Regions from separate parts of the Homo sapiens genome. Here regions 1, 2 and 3 are each linked to region 4. Evidence: promoter capture Hi-C in human tissues and cell types (Jung and others, 2019). All regions are on one chromosome and are shown on one strand. Each heading gives the region's core, a stretch centred on a gene start or on the middle of the fragment in contact. The rest is flanking DNA. Distances are from core to core; before and after follow the strand shown. Region 1 overlaps BMP1 (bone morphogenetic protein 1). Region 2 overlaps PIWIL2 (piwi like RNA-mediated gene silencing 2). Region 3 overlaps TNFRSF10C (TNF receptor superfamily member 10c). Region 4 holds the start of CCAR2 (cell cycle and apoptosis regulator 2).

What was found. The method cuts DNA at HindIII sites, captures the fragments that hold promoters and counts their contacts. A contact is called where the count stands out against the background at its distance.
Region 1: a fragment that was not itself captured here is called in contact with the fragment with the promoter of CCAR2 in region 4 in 1 of the 25 tissues and cell types used here (liver).
Region 2: a contact is called between a fragment that was not itself captured here and the fragment with the promoter of CCAR2 in region 4, in 1 of the 25 tissues and cell types used here (mesenchymal stem cells).
Region 3: a fragment that was not itself captured here is called in contact with the fragment with the promoter of CCAR2 in region 4 in 1 of the 25 tissues and cell types used here (spleen).

Annotation. Positions count from the first base shown.
Region 1 is chr8:22,204,363-22,207,168 of GRCh38, reverse strand. It overlaps BMP1 (bone morphogenetic protein 1), which reads right to left. Exons shown (of 20, transcript NM_006129.5): 17 at 188-315. Among named protein-coding and RNA genes, the nearest start is that of PHYHIP, 26 kb to the left of the region's middle. The HindIII fragment of the contact is 8,100 bases long and covers 1-2,806 here.
Region 2 is chr8:22,286,891-22,290,029 of GRCh38, reverse strand. It overlaps PIWIL2 (piwi like RNA-mediated gene silencing 2), which reads right to left. Exons shown (of 23, transcript NM_018068.5): 7 at 2,385-2,502; 8 at 1,364-1,488; 9 at 103-183. Among named protein-coding and RNA genes, the nearest start is that of PIWIL2, 13 kb to the right of the region's middle. The HindIII fragment of the contact is 4,874 bases long and covers 1-3,139 here.
Region 3 is chr8:23,105,254-23,108,232 of GRCh38, reverse strand. The region is part of intron 1 of TNFRSF10C (TNF receptor superfamily member 10c); the gene reads right to left. Among named protein-coding and RNA genes, the nearest start is that of TNFRSF10C, 3.8 kb to the right of the region's middle. The HindIII fragment of the contact is 5,895 bases long and covers 1-2,979 here.
Region 4 is chr8:22,603,272-22,606,085 of GRCh38, reverse strand. It overlaps CCAR2 (cell cycle and apoptosis regulator 2), which reads right to left and starts at 1,329. Exons shown (of 21, transcript NM_001393997.1): 1 at 1,244-1,329; 2 at 255-350; 3 at 1. The coding sequence starts at 312. C8orf58 (chromosome 8 open reading frame 58) reads right to left here. Exons shown (of 7, transcript NM_001013842.3): 7 at 1,944-2,814. The coding sequence ends at 2,780. LOC107986876 (a long non-coding RNA gene) reads left to right here and starts at 1,086. Exons shown (of 1, transcript NR_160769.1): 1 at 1,086-2,814. RefSeq lists silencers at 912-971, 1,032-1,331 and enhancers at 995-1,495, 1,502-1,611. The HindIII fragment of the contact is 3,664 bases long and covers 1-1,807 here.

The DNA of each region.
Region 1 (2,806 bases), core at 223-2,722, 400 kb after region 4:
CCAGGAATAGGGCGAAGGCAGGGACGCCCCTAATTTATACTGGGAAAGGGGCCTCTGTCCAGGCCAGACTTGGGGTCTCCTGGGGATGGCAGACCTCTGGGCTCAGCCTGCAGCCTGTGTGGCTCTGGGCAGTGCCTCTGACCGGGGGCAGCCACACCGCATAAGGAGTGGGGAGGGGACCCCTTACCAGCTTGACCCGGTGCCCGGGGGTGCTGGAGATGGCCCACGTGCACTCCTTCTTGCTGGGATACTTGTCAGGCCAGTTGGGGCTGGTGATGGTACCACTGGTGGATGTCACCTTGTGGTCACAGCCGGCTGCAGGGAAGCGAGTGACGGAAGGGGATAGAGAGGGACCCCAAGCTCCGATGCCTCCTGTGGGGAAGGCCCTTCCCTCCTGCCCCCCCTCCTTTCTTCCATCTCTTGTCCCACTTATGAACTGGATGGCAGGCAGGCATCGTTTCTTTTTCATGAGGTTACTGCGTCTGGGGAAAATCTAGCTGCCCGATTCCTACAAAAGCCTTGAGTGAGGCCTCACATGGCAGCACTCATGAAGCAGCCATCGCAGGCTCCCTGGACAACCCCCAGACCTTTGTAGGTGTTGGGCCACAGGGGTCATATCACCTGTGCCTCTCCATTTTTCTTTTCTTTCTTTCTTTTTTTTTTTTTTGAGATGGAGTCTCGCTCTGTTGCCCAGGCTGGAGTGCAGTGGTGTGATCTCGGCTCACTGCAACCTCCACCTCCCAGGTTTAAGTGATTCTCCTGCCTTAGCCTCCTCAGTATCTTGGATTACAGACGTGCGCCACCATCTCTGGCTAATTTTTGTATTTTTAGTAGAGACGGGGTTTCGCCATGTTGGCCAGGCTAGTCTCAAACTCCCGACCTCAGGAGATCTACCCACCTTGGCCTCCCAAAGTGCTGGGATTACAGGCGTGAGCCACTATGCCTGGCTAATTTTTGTATTTTTAGTAGAGACAGAGTTTCACCATGTTGGCCAGGCTGGTCTCGAACTCCTGGCCCCAAGTGATCCACCTGCCTAGGCCTTCCAAAGTGCTGGGATTACAGGCGTGAGCCACTGCACCCGGCTGACCTGTGCCCCTCCTTGAAGCTGTCATCCACTGATCTCCAGCAGCCTGGACAGTCACAGGGGACTTTGACACCTGACTCAGTTCTCCCCACCCCCACTCCTGCTACCCTCCCAGGTGAAGTCAACAGACATATAACGGTCCACCCAAGACGGCCTCTCGGTTCCTTGAGGGCTTTGTCATCATCCACTGTTTCTTCACATCACAAACACATCACCCCTCTGTGGCCACCTCCTGTTCCTTCGGGGTGCTCAGGACCTCACCTTCCTGATCATGGTCATTTGGCTTTATTAAAATTAAAAAACAAAAACAAAAATGGGTCCTCACTTTGCTACCCAGGCTGGAGTACAGTAGTGCGATCATAGCTCACCATAGCCTTGAGCTCCTAGGCTCAATTGATCCTCCCGCCTCAGCCTCCCAAGTAGCTGGGACTACAGGCATGCCACCTGGGTAATTTTTTTCATTTTTGCTTGTTGTAGAGATGGGGTCTCACTATGTTGCCCAGGCTGATGTCAAACTCCTGGATTCAAGCGATCCTCCTGCCTCAGCTTCCCAAAGTGCTAGGGTCACAGGCATGAGCCACTGTGCCTGGCTGGCCTCTTAATTTTAGAGAGACCTCCAGGGTCTTGATCTTTCTATTCTCTCCCACTATTTCCTCCTCGATTGACTTAACTGACTGCAGGGCTGACCACCCAGCCTGCTCCTCTGCACCCTGCGTGGCCCTGCATCCCCGGCTCTGCACAGCACTATCTTAGAAAACTCCACCTGTGGCTCCAGCCTCACCTGGGCCCCCAGACCACTTGATACTCTTTGGATTGGCCTTTACCAGCTCCATCTCTCACCTCCTTAGTAACTGCTGCAAACATCCAGCCCCCTCCTCAAGCCACTGTGTCAGCTCCCAGTGGCAGACCACCTCTCTCCTACCTCCTGACAAAGCCAGGGCCTTCCACCATGAATGGCTTCAACCTCTGGACTCCGACCTGCAAACCCACCTACCCTGCTACCCTGCTGCCCTGAAGCCTCAGAGCAAGTGTCCCTCCTCCCCGTCAGGATGGACTGCCCTTCTGGGAGGTGCAGCTCATTGCTGCCCACGCGTGGGAACCCTCACACCACAAATGATCCAGCCTCACGCTCTCACTCAGCTCTGCAGCCTCGGAACCTTCACACATCCTGAAAGAGCTCTCCCAGGCCCCTCCAGCTACAGCCCATCGCTCTCCTTTTGTTTCCAGCTAGCCTTCGAGAACACTCGCTATGGCCACACTCTCACGGCAGGTCTCCTCAATCCACGGCAATCTGACTTCTGCCTCTGAAAAGCATGGCTTCCCCAACTCAATTTCTTTTTGCGGGGGCGGGCGGGGTGGGGGGGGACAGGGTCTTGCTCTGTTGCCCAGGCTGGAGTGAAGTGGCGCGATCCTGGCTCACTGCAACCTCTGCCTCCCAGGTTCAAGCGATTCTTGTGCCTCAGCCTCCCAAGCAGTTGGGACTATAGGCTTGCGCCACCACGCCTGGCTAATTTTTTGTATTTTTAGTGGAGACGGGTGTTGCCATGTTGCCCAGGCTGGTCTTGAGCTCCTGAGCTCAGGCAATCTGCCCCCATCAGCTTCCCAAAGTGCTGGGATTACAGGCATGAGCCACCACGCCCTGCCCCGACTCAGATTTACAAGCTGATGATCATTATTCATGATGACATTATTGGACAGCTTTCACTGGGGGAAACAGGCGGC
Region 2 (3,139 bases), core at 257-2,756, 320 kb after region 4:
ACCATAAACTACTGCTGACATTATAGTACTAAATACAATGGTTGTAATGGAAACTTTCTTTCCAGAACATTCAAAAGTGAGGGAAGGGAAAAAAGTACCAACCTGTGTTGCTGTAGTACCATAGCACTTGTAGGGTCATAAAAGTTTCTCCCCACAAGCTTCATATCTAAAAGTTTCATTACCCTGAAATAAAAAGCAAGTATGAGTTTTCTAATAGAAGAGTAATAAAATTATGTTCCATTATTCTTAGCTACATTTGCCTTTGGAAGTCTGAACGGTTAGAAATGTTTGTGCTCTTTGCAGAAGACAGCTTTTATATTGAGAACAATCTTGTTAAAAGAAAACCAAAAACTGCCAAAGCATTTGACTGAAAAAGCAAAGCAAAATGACAGCAGTCTTTTCCACTTACTAGCTGACCAAACACTGAGTTGGTTTCCAAGGTTTTATTACGTTACTTTTCACCACTAACTACGAAGAATGCAAGACAGCCCATTGCTAAGTGTGTGAATAACAGTGTGGCAAAGGGAGCTATGTTTACTCCTGGCAGTTCAACTTACTAGGTAGAAATTAGGTTCCATGGGCCGGGCGCGGTGGCTTACGCCTCTAATCCCAGCACTTTGGGAGGCTGAGGTGGACAGATCACGAGGTCAAAAGATCGAGACCATCCTGGCCAACAAGATGAAACATCATCTCTATTAAAAATACAAAAATTAGCCAGACGTGGCAGCGCATGCCTGTAATCCCAGCTACTCAGGAGACTGAGGCAGGACAATCACTTGAACCAGGGAGTCGGAGGTTGCAGTGAGCCGGGATTGCGCCACTGCACTACAGCCTGGCGACAGAGCGAGACTCCGTCTCTCAAAAAAAAAAAAAAAAAGAAAAAAGAAAAGAAAAGAAATTAGGTTGTGTTTCATTAAATAAGAGAATAGCGGCTGTATGAAAACTAGGATGTTTCAAAAGAAGTTAAACAATTATGAGCTGTCTGTAATCCAAAAATTCAAGACACTGAAAAATCCTTCCAGCAAATATTTTTACACACAACCTCTTTAAGTAGCCCCCTTGTTACCGTCACCATTAAATATGCACTATCAACAGCCGCTTTCAAAGTTCCTGAACACAACTGGAGGAACCCGTTCCCCTATCCAGCTACCTCCAAACCTAATTTCATATATTCAAATCTGGTCTACCACTTGTGAGATAATTTTTGAGTAAGTTAGCCTCAATACCATCCATTTATTCATTAAATGCTTCCAAACCCATCTAGAATATACTGTCACGTATTTCCATCCAAGTATCTTGAAGAACATTACTGTAAATACAAGACTGAAGTTACAGGACAATAGAACTTCAGCTGTTTTCTTACCGACGGAAAACAACATTGTAGAAGGGAATGCACAGGTCAGAGCAGGGCTCCAGGATCTTTGTCATCTGAATCTTAATGCTGATTTCAGCACTGTCTGTTTTCCTTTGACTTTTTAACTCAAGAACCTAACAAATAAATACACACAGGTGAAACAAAATGACAAAACTAAGAACTAATGACCAAGTCCTAATCTAATTCAACTGTGTTCTTAAGAACACTAAAGTATCTTAAAACATTTTTCTACTTTTCCCCTCACTTTGTTGCCCACACTAGCAAAAGCACAGCATGACAACTACGATTCAGAAAAATGATTTGGTAAGAGAATTCCAACCAAGTTTACATTTGCAATTTTTTTTTTTTTTTTTTTTGGAGACAGAGTCTCGCTCTGTCACCCAGGCTGGAGTGCAGTGGCGTGATCTCGGCTCACTGCAGGCTCCGCCTCCTGGGTTGACGCCATTCTCCTGCCTCAGCCTCCTGAGTAGCTGGGACTACAGGCGCCTGCCACCATGCCCAGCTAATTTTTTTTATTTTTAGTAGAGACAGGGTTTCACCGTGTTAGCCAGGATGGTCTCAATCTCGTGACCTCGTGATCCACCTGACTTAGCCTCCCAAAGTACTAGGATTACAGGCGTGAGCCACCGCACCCGGCCTACATTTGCAATTTTAAGTTACTCTTTATCACTGAGGTCACAGACTTCCAACCATTCCTCTCATGTGAGAAGGTGCTTCTTGAGGAATTCAAACCTAAAATGTGCTGTGATGTCCTGCAGAAATCTGTCTTCCCCTCTATGAACAGAAAAGCACAACTCGAACATACAGGAATTCTATGGTTTCCTACCCCTCAAAACACCAGTCCTGGGCCAGGTGAAGTGGCTCACACGCCTGTAGTCCCAGGGCTTTGGGAATTCGAGACCAGTCTGGGCAACATAGCAAGACCCAATCTCTTAAAAGCAAAACCAAACAAAAAACGCCAGAGCACTCTTAGGGTTCATCTCAAAGTCCATTTCCTGTTTGGTCTCACTTGTTGAAGCTTAACAGGCAGATAGAGAATAGATCCATCAAACGCAGTGACGTTGCCGGTGACAGCTTGATGGTCCTTCAACATGCCGAACCTCATGCTTTTGCACTCCACATTGGGGCTGGAAAATAATGAAGAGGATTTTCCTTTAACTTGACTCAAACTGCAATCTTTACCAGAGCTGTGCAACAGGTGCTAGTTACCCAGTAACTGCTGCTCCATCTAGCGGGCATATTAAAAATTATCTATCTGCCTAGAACTTTGACTCAAGAAGACCTGCTCGCAGCTGAAACATCAGAAACCATAGGTCATAAAAAAATAAAAACCACCAAATCCTACCACCAAAGGACACCTGCCTTAGCACGTCAGTGTATATTCTTTCATATATACACATTTGTTTTTGAGACGGAGTCTCGCTCTGCCGCCCAGGCTGGAGTGCAGTGAAGCCATCTCAGCTCACTGCAATCTCCACCTCCCAAGTTCAAGTGACTCTCCCTTTGTTTCCTTAACATTTGTCACTCCATTTTAAGAGGAAGACTTCTCCCCATCTCCCTTTTTTTTTTTGAGATAGGGTCTTCCTTTGTCACCCAGGCTGAAGTACACTGGCATGATCATAGCTCACTGCCATCTCAAACTCCTGGGCTCAAGTGATCCTTCTGCCTCAGTCCCCCAAGTAACTGGGACTATAAGGGTACCACCACACCTGACTAAAAAAAAATTTTTTTTTGCCCTGGCTCGGTGGCTCATGCCTGTAATCC
Region 3 (2,979 bases), core at 111-2,610, 500 kb before region 4:
GGCCATCTTCCAAGTGTACTTTCCTTCTTTTCTTTCTGTTCCTTCCTTTCCTTCCTGTTCCTTCCTTTCCTTCCTGTTCTAAAGCTTTTTAATAAACTTTCACTCCTGCTCTGAAACTTGCCTCCATCTCTGCTTCTGCCTTATGCCCCTCAAACCAGTTCTTTCTTCTCAGGAGGCGAAGAGCTGAAGGTGCTGTGGACGCATACGGATTCGCCGCCTTCAACGTAGGGTAACTCGGATCTCATCCACCGCTAACAAAATCAACTTCATCTGATACTGAGATAGCCATGGCAGTTTTCTTGGCCTTACACTCTGCATGGTGTATCTTTTTCCATCTATTTACTTTCAACAGACAACATCTGTGTCTTCCTTTTAAGGCCCATCTCATATAGACAAGATATAGTTGAGTCTTGCTTTCTCAGCCCTTCCAAACATTTCTACCATTGAACTGTAGTGCTCAGTGGATTTACAGGGAGTGCAATAATTGATATAGTTGAAATAGACCTGTAAGTTTACCATTTAAGCTATGATTGTCTAGTCTAATTTTTTTACTCCTTTTCCCCCTGCACATTTTAATGTTAATTACCTTTTAGAATTCCATTTTAATTGGATAAACTGACTTTTTATGCATACCTATTTCCATGATCTATGTGCAAGTGCTATAGGGAATACAGTATACACTCAAGTGTTTACATTCTATTGAAGGTTTTTTAAAAATGGATTCATTGAGGTATAATGGGCATGAAACAAAGTGTACATTTTTGAAGCATGTAGTTTGGTAGATTGAGACGTGTGTATACATTGTGGAACTACCACCACGATAAGAAAATGACATGTCCACCACACCCCAGAATTTCTTCATTCTTCAATGTAATCCTCTCTTCCGCTTTGCTCCTATGTCCCCAGCAATAATTCTGCTTTTTGTCAGAATAGATTGGTCGAATTTTAATGAGAAATGGAATCAGATGGTAAGCATTCTGTGTGGATTCCTTCACACGACATAATTTTCTGTGTTTTTCTGTTTTTCTGTTTGTTTGGTTTTTTGTTGTTGTTGTTGTGACCGGGTTTTGCTATGTTGCCCTGGCTGGTCTTGAACTCCTGGGCTCAAGTGATCTGCCTGTCTTGGCAGGACTACAGGTGTGAGCCATCGCACCCTGCCCACCCTGGTCAATTGACTATTATGAATTAAAGGCTATTGAAAAACAACAGGTGCAAGAAGATCCTTTGACCTCTTTTGTGTTTCCTAAAAGCAGGAGATGAAAGTCCCCAGGGAAACATAGGACAATCTCCTTTTTTTTTTTTTCTGAAAGCTCTGCTTCCCAGGTTCTCACCATTCTCCTGCCTCAGCCTCTCCAGTAGCTGGGACTACAGGCACCCGCCACCACACTCCGCTAATTGTTTTGTATTTTCAGTAGAGACGGGGTTTCACTGTGTTAGCCAGGATGGTCTCGATCTCCTGACCTCGTGATCCACCTGCCTTGACCTCCCGAAGTGCTGGGATTACAGGCGTGAGCCACCGCACCCAGCTGACAATTTCCTTATTTTTAAGGATGAGAAGTCGAGGCCAAGAGGGTACTGTGCAGACCATGTTAGAATGGATCCACTCTCATCTTTTTAGCTCCTCACATAGTTACTTGCTTCTTCATGAGTTACTTGGTCTAATTCAGTAAATAAGTAACTGACTCTCACAGGTTCTTCCATGCCAGGTAAAACTTGAATTAAATAAATGTGTGTGCTTGTCTCCTGTGGACCTCTCTTAGGTGAATCAAATTCTCAGGCCCAGCTAAAAAAAAAAAAAAAAAAATCGGGTGGGGGGGCATCTAAAGGAGAGCTTCGCTCCCCTCCCTGACCCTCAATGGTGACTGTAATCAAACCACATCTTCCAGGCCAACAGTACCACATCCTATGGCCCTGCAACAGCATGGCCTCTCTCCAGCACAGCCTCTCTGGAGGAGGGGGAGGCAAGGGTAGTGAGATCTCAGGCCTCCTTCATGCTACCTCCTATTAGTTATATAATCCCTGGGTCACCTCTCCCACCACACTGCGGGCTCCAGGGAACAGGATTCACATGGGGTTCATTTGTCCTCCCAAACTCCGGCGGACTCCAGGCACAGGTGTTCTCAGAGTAAAGGGCTCACTGTTTACTTCCTGGATGAATCACTTTCCCCTCAAGCCTATGAAGTGCGCGCAGTTGTGGCCTCAGCTCAAGGCCGAAGGACAGGCTCCAAGAGCCCTGTGAACTCTGCTGAGGAACCATAAGAGCTCCCAGAGGCCAAGGGCAGGACAGAGATCAGAGAAGCAGCTGCTCAGAGAACTCTAGCCCTGAATCTCATTTTACCACTTGTAAAACAGGAAAAACAACCTACCTTCATCTCCCCGGGTTGTTAGGAAATCCACTACATGAAGATGTGCATTCTCTGGCTGGAAGCAGGATACCAGCTGCCCAACGGCAGAGGCTCGGGGCATGGCACTGTCCCCACTGTCCCCATCCCTGACCTAGAAGCTAGAGCCTCACTGCCCTGCCACTCCTGGATACACGACAGAGGACCAGAACTGGGACTGTGGCCTCTCAGTACAGCCTGGGTGAGTAGCCATCTGCAGCCACCTGGATGGAGACATTTCCTGCTCACTCTTCAAACTACAACCCGGGCCAGGCGCCTACCAGAAGGACAACTGGAAGCATGGCAGGTAAACCAGGCTGTGGCCCTGCAGTGCCATCGCTGTCCTCACTTGACGTCTGGCTCCTCTGTTCCTCCATGGCCCCTCCCCGTGGTGCTCCACCCTAGTCTTCAGAAGCTTCTGCCCCAAGCTCAGGGAGCAAGTACCAGGGTGCAGGTAGGAACAGGGGCAGCCTCTGCTGGATGGAGGACAGGTGCCTGGGGATCCAGTCCAGAGTGAGTGACACCAGCCCTGAGGATGTGATTTGTCCTCCCACACCTGGTAACACAGCCCTCTGAGGTTTACACAGGGCTGCTGAAG
Region 4 (2,814 bases), core at 80-2,579:
CCTATGGGGAAAGAGAAGCAATCTCCAGGAACCGCCCCTACCACCTTAAGCACGAGTCAACCAAAGGATGTGGTAAATCCAAAGGCTACAGCTCCAGCCAGCTCCTCCACAGAGCTTCACTGGCAATCACTGTGGGCATCTCCTGCTTTCCAGAGGAACATCAGCAGCAAATTGCTCTCCACCAGGGAAACCCCAAACTAACTCCAGAGCACATACTTCCCAGGATGAGGCCAGGTAGGGAGAACAGTGATCACCTGAGAAGTTGCGTCCCCCTGGAAGCGGGTTGATCCGCTGGCGCTTAAACTGGGACATTGGGAACGCTGTCCTCTTTCAGAGTCGTGGGGAAAAGGCTTCAATCCAAAAAGAAAGAAATTAACAGCTTATAAGGGAAATTTCCATCTATACCCGGAAAAGTGGAGAATCTTAAGTAAGGATATTTCGGAAAACAGGGAGGTGGGTAATAAGAATGAATGAAAGCAATGGATGGAGAGAATATAGAGAAGAAAGAAATGAAACAAGAAATTACATTGTTCCAGTTTGCCCTGACAATAACCTAGTGGTGCATGATACTGTCATGCTGTTTTACAGACAAGGAAACTGATGCTCAGAGAGATCAAGAGACTTGCCCGGGGCCACATAACCAGGTAGTGACAAAACTGCTACTCACACCCAGGCCTCCCAACAACTTAGCGCTCCTCTCACTATGCCACGCCACCCCCAGAGTAGCTGGCGGGGTGAGGGGCTCGAGAGAGCCCCGATGACATTCCTTCGTTCAAAAACATCCGCCAAAACCCTCCACGCAAGGCCCGGAAAAATGGAGGAGGCCGGTGCCGGCGAGGAGACTGTGTGGGCCCTCTCCCCGGAAGCCCGACCCGTTGTTTCCTCGACCGGCTGGTGGGAAGGCAGCTCCCTGGCCGACCAAACGCGAAACCGGCTGCGCGCCACCCTCCTGCTCCCACGCTCCCGGGCCCTCCGCTCCGGCCTCAGCAGCCGCCAGCGCCGGGTCTCCCAGCAGAGCCGCGGCGAGGCCACCAAGGGAGGACTGAGGCGCGCGGTTTCTCCTCCTCCCGCCCGCCCCCAAGGCCGAGGCCGTTGCCAGGGAGACGGGACTTGCAGTCCAAAGAGGGGCTCGGCCCCTTCCGCGCCCCACGCATCTTCGCCGCCCGGCCCTCGCAGCCCCTCGGCCAGCGGAGGGGCGGAGGGGCGAAGGGGCAGAGGGGCGGCAGGGGGCCCCCCAACCCACCTGCGGGCCAGGGCAGCGACACCGGGGGGACAAAGACACCCGGAACCACCACAGCCGCTGCTGCCGCCGCCACCGGAAGCGCCTCTCCGGAAGCGCGACCACTGGTCGGAAGCTGCCGCTCTCCCGGATATGGTCCCTCCCTCGTCTCCGCCGACCTCTCCCTTCCCCCACGCCGGCTTGCCATCCCGCGGCAACTGGGGAGCGGAAGTGCGCCTTCCCGGATCGGATGCGCGTCAGGAAGTCGCGCCTCGGTAGTGTCCTCGCTAAAGAATCCCATCAGGAAAGAAGGCTTCGGATCATTGGTTCCGGGCTCAAAGGAAGCGGGAGCTGGGCCCCCCAAACACAAGGGACCCCCGACTGCCTACCACGCTCGCCTCCCTCTGGCAGTCGAGACTGCAACAGATAAGGAAACCAGCCCCTCCTGACTGGAGGAGAAGGATGCCTATCAGTGACCATTTCTAAGAGACATTCCTGGTCTGACTCAAGCCAGTGACCACCATGCCTAGCCAGTCAGGAATCAGTGCCCTAATTCTCAAATATGAAATCTAAGAGGCCTCAATGAAATGACCTGCTCAAAATCTTGCCAGGAGACTGGCCATTTTAGTCCCCATTAGCAATCCCAGCCCCCCCTTATCCTCCGACCTCCCCATCATCACTCCAGCCTTACTTTCCCCTTTCCTATTCACCTGAGGTTTACAAAGCACTTTGAGGCAGTTTAATCTCACTTTATCCTCATAACAAGTCTGTGAGGTAGATAGGGCAGGCATCATTATTCCCAGCGGGAAGCTGTGGCTCAGAAAGGTTGACTTGGGGTCTAAAAACTAGTACAGGCATCTGGTTTGAATTAAGACCTGTAAACGCTAGTACGGAGCAGAGAAGCTGAGCACTGGCTTTGAAAGTTATTCAGTTCCCAGGTTGTCCCTGATCTTCCTCATTCCTTGTGCAGTCTTCAGGAGTCCGGGGCAAGATTCCATGCAGAGGCAGCCAAAGCCACACCGTTCTCTGTCCCAGGGCTGCCAGCATGGCTCTGAGGAGGAAAGCTCAGTAACTGCCCACTGGGGAATAAAGGTCAGTTCCATCCTTCTGCAGTGACCTCCCCCAGAATATCAACCCTTTGGATGCATTATTTCAGAAGAGATGGTTGGATCCAGCCAGCTTGCAACACTGACAGTCACACAGAGATATGCATACCATTGCGCATAAATACACATCTGCAACATGCTGGGCCCAGACAGGTCACCATGCCAAAAACACTCCACGGACACCTGACAATGAGTGAGTTCACATTGTGGAAGCCCAGGGATTTCTGGTGAGGAGGAAGAGCCCTGGAGCTGCGGCATCTTGGGGGCCTCTCAAGAAACCAAGGTTCCTGACCAGACTGCTTAGAGGAGAAAGATTCAGCCCTCGACTCAAGAGAGGAGGGCAGGCGTCAGCAGCTTTTCCTGGCAATGTGGAGAAGCAGCAAGAGGGCAGAGGGCGAGGAAGACTTCACAGCAAGTCCCCTCCACCCAGGGTCACCAGGTGCACCGAGAGGTCTCAGCCTACAGAAAGGTTTTTTGCTCGTTGCTTCT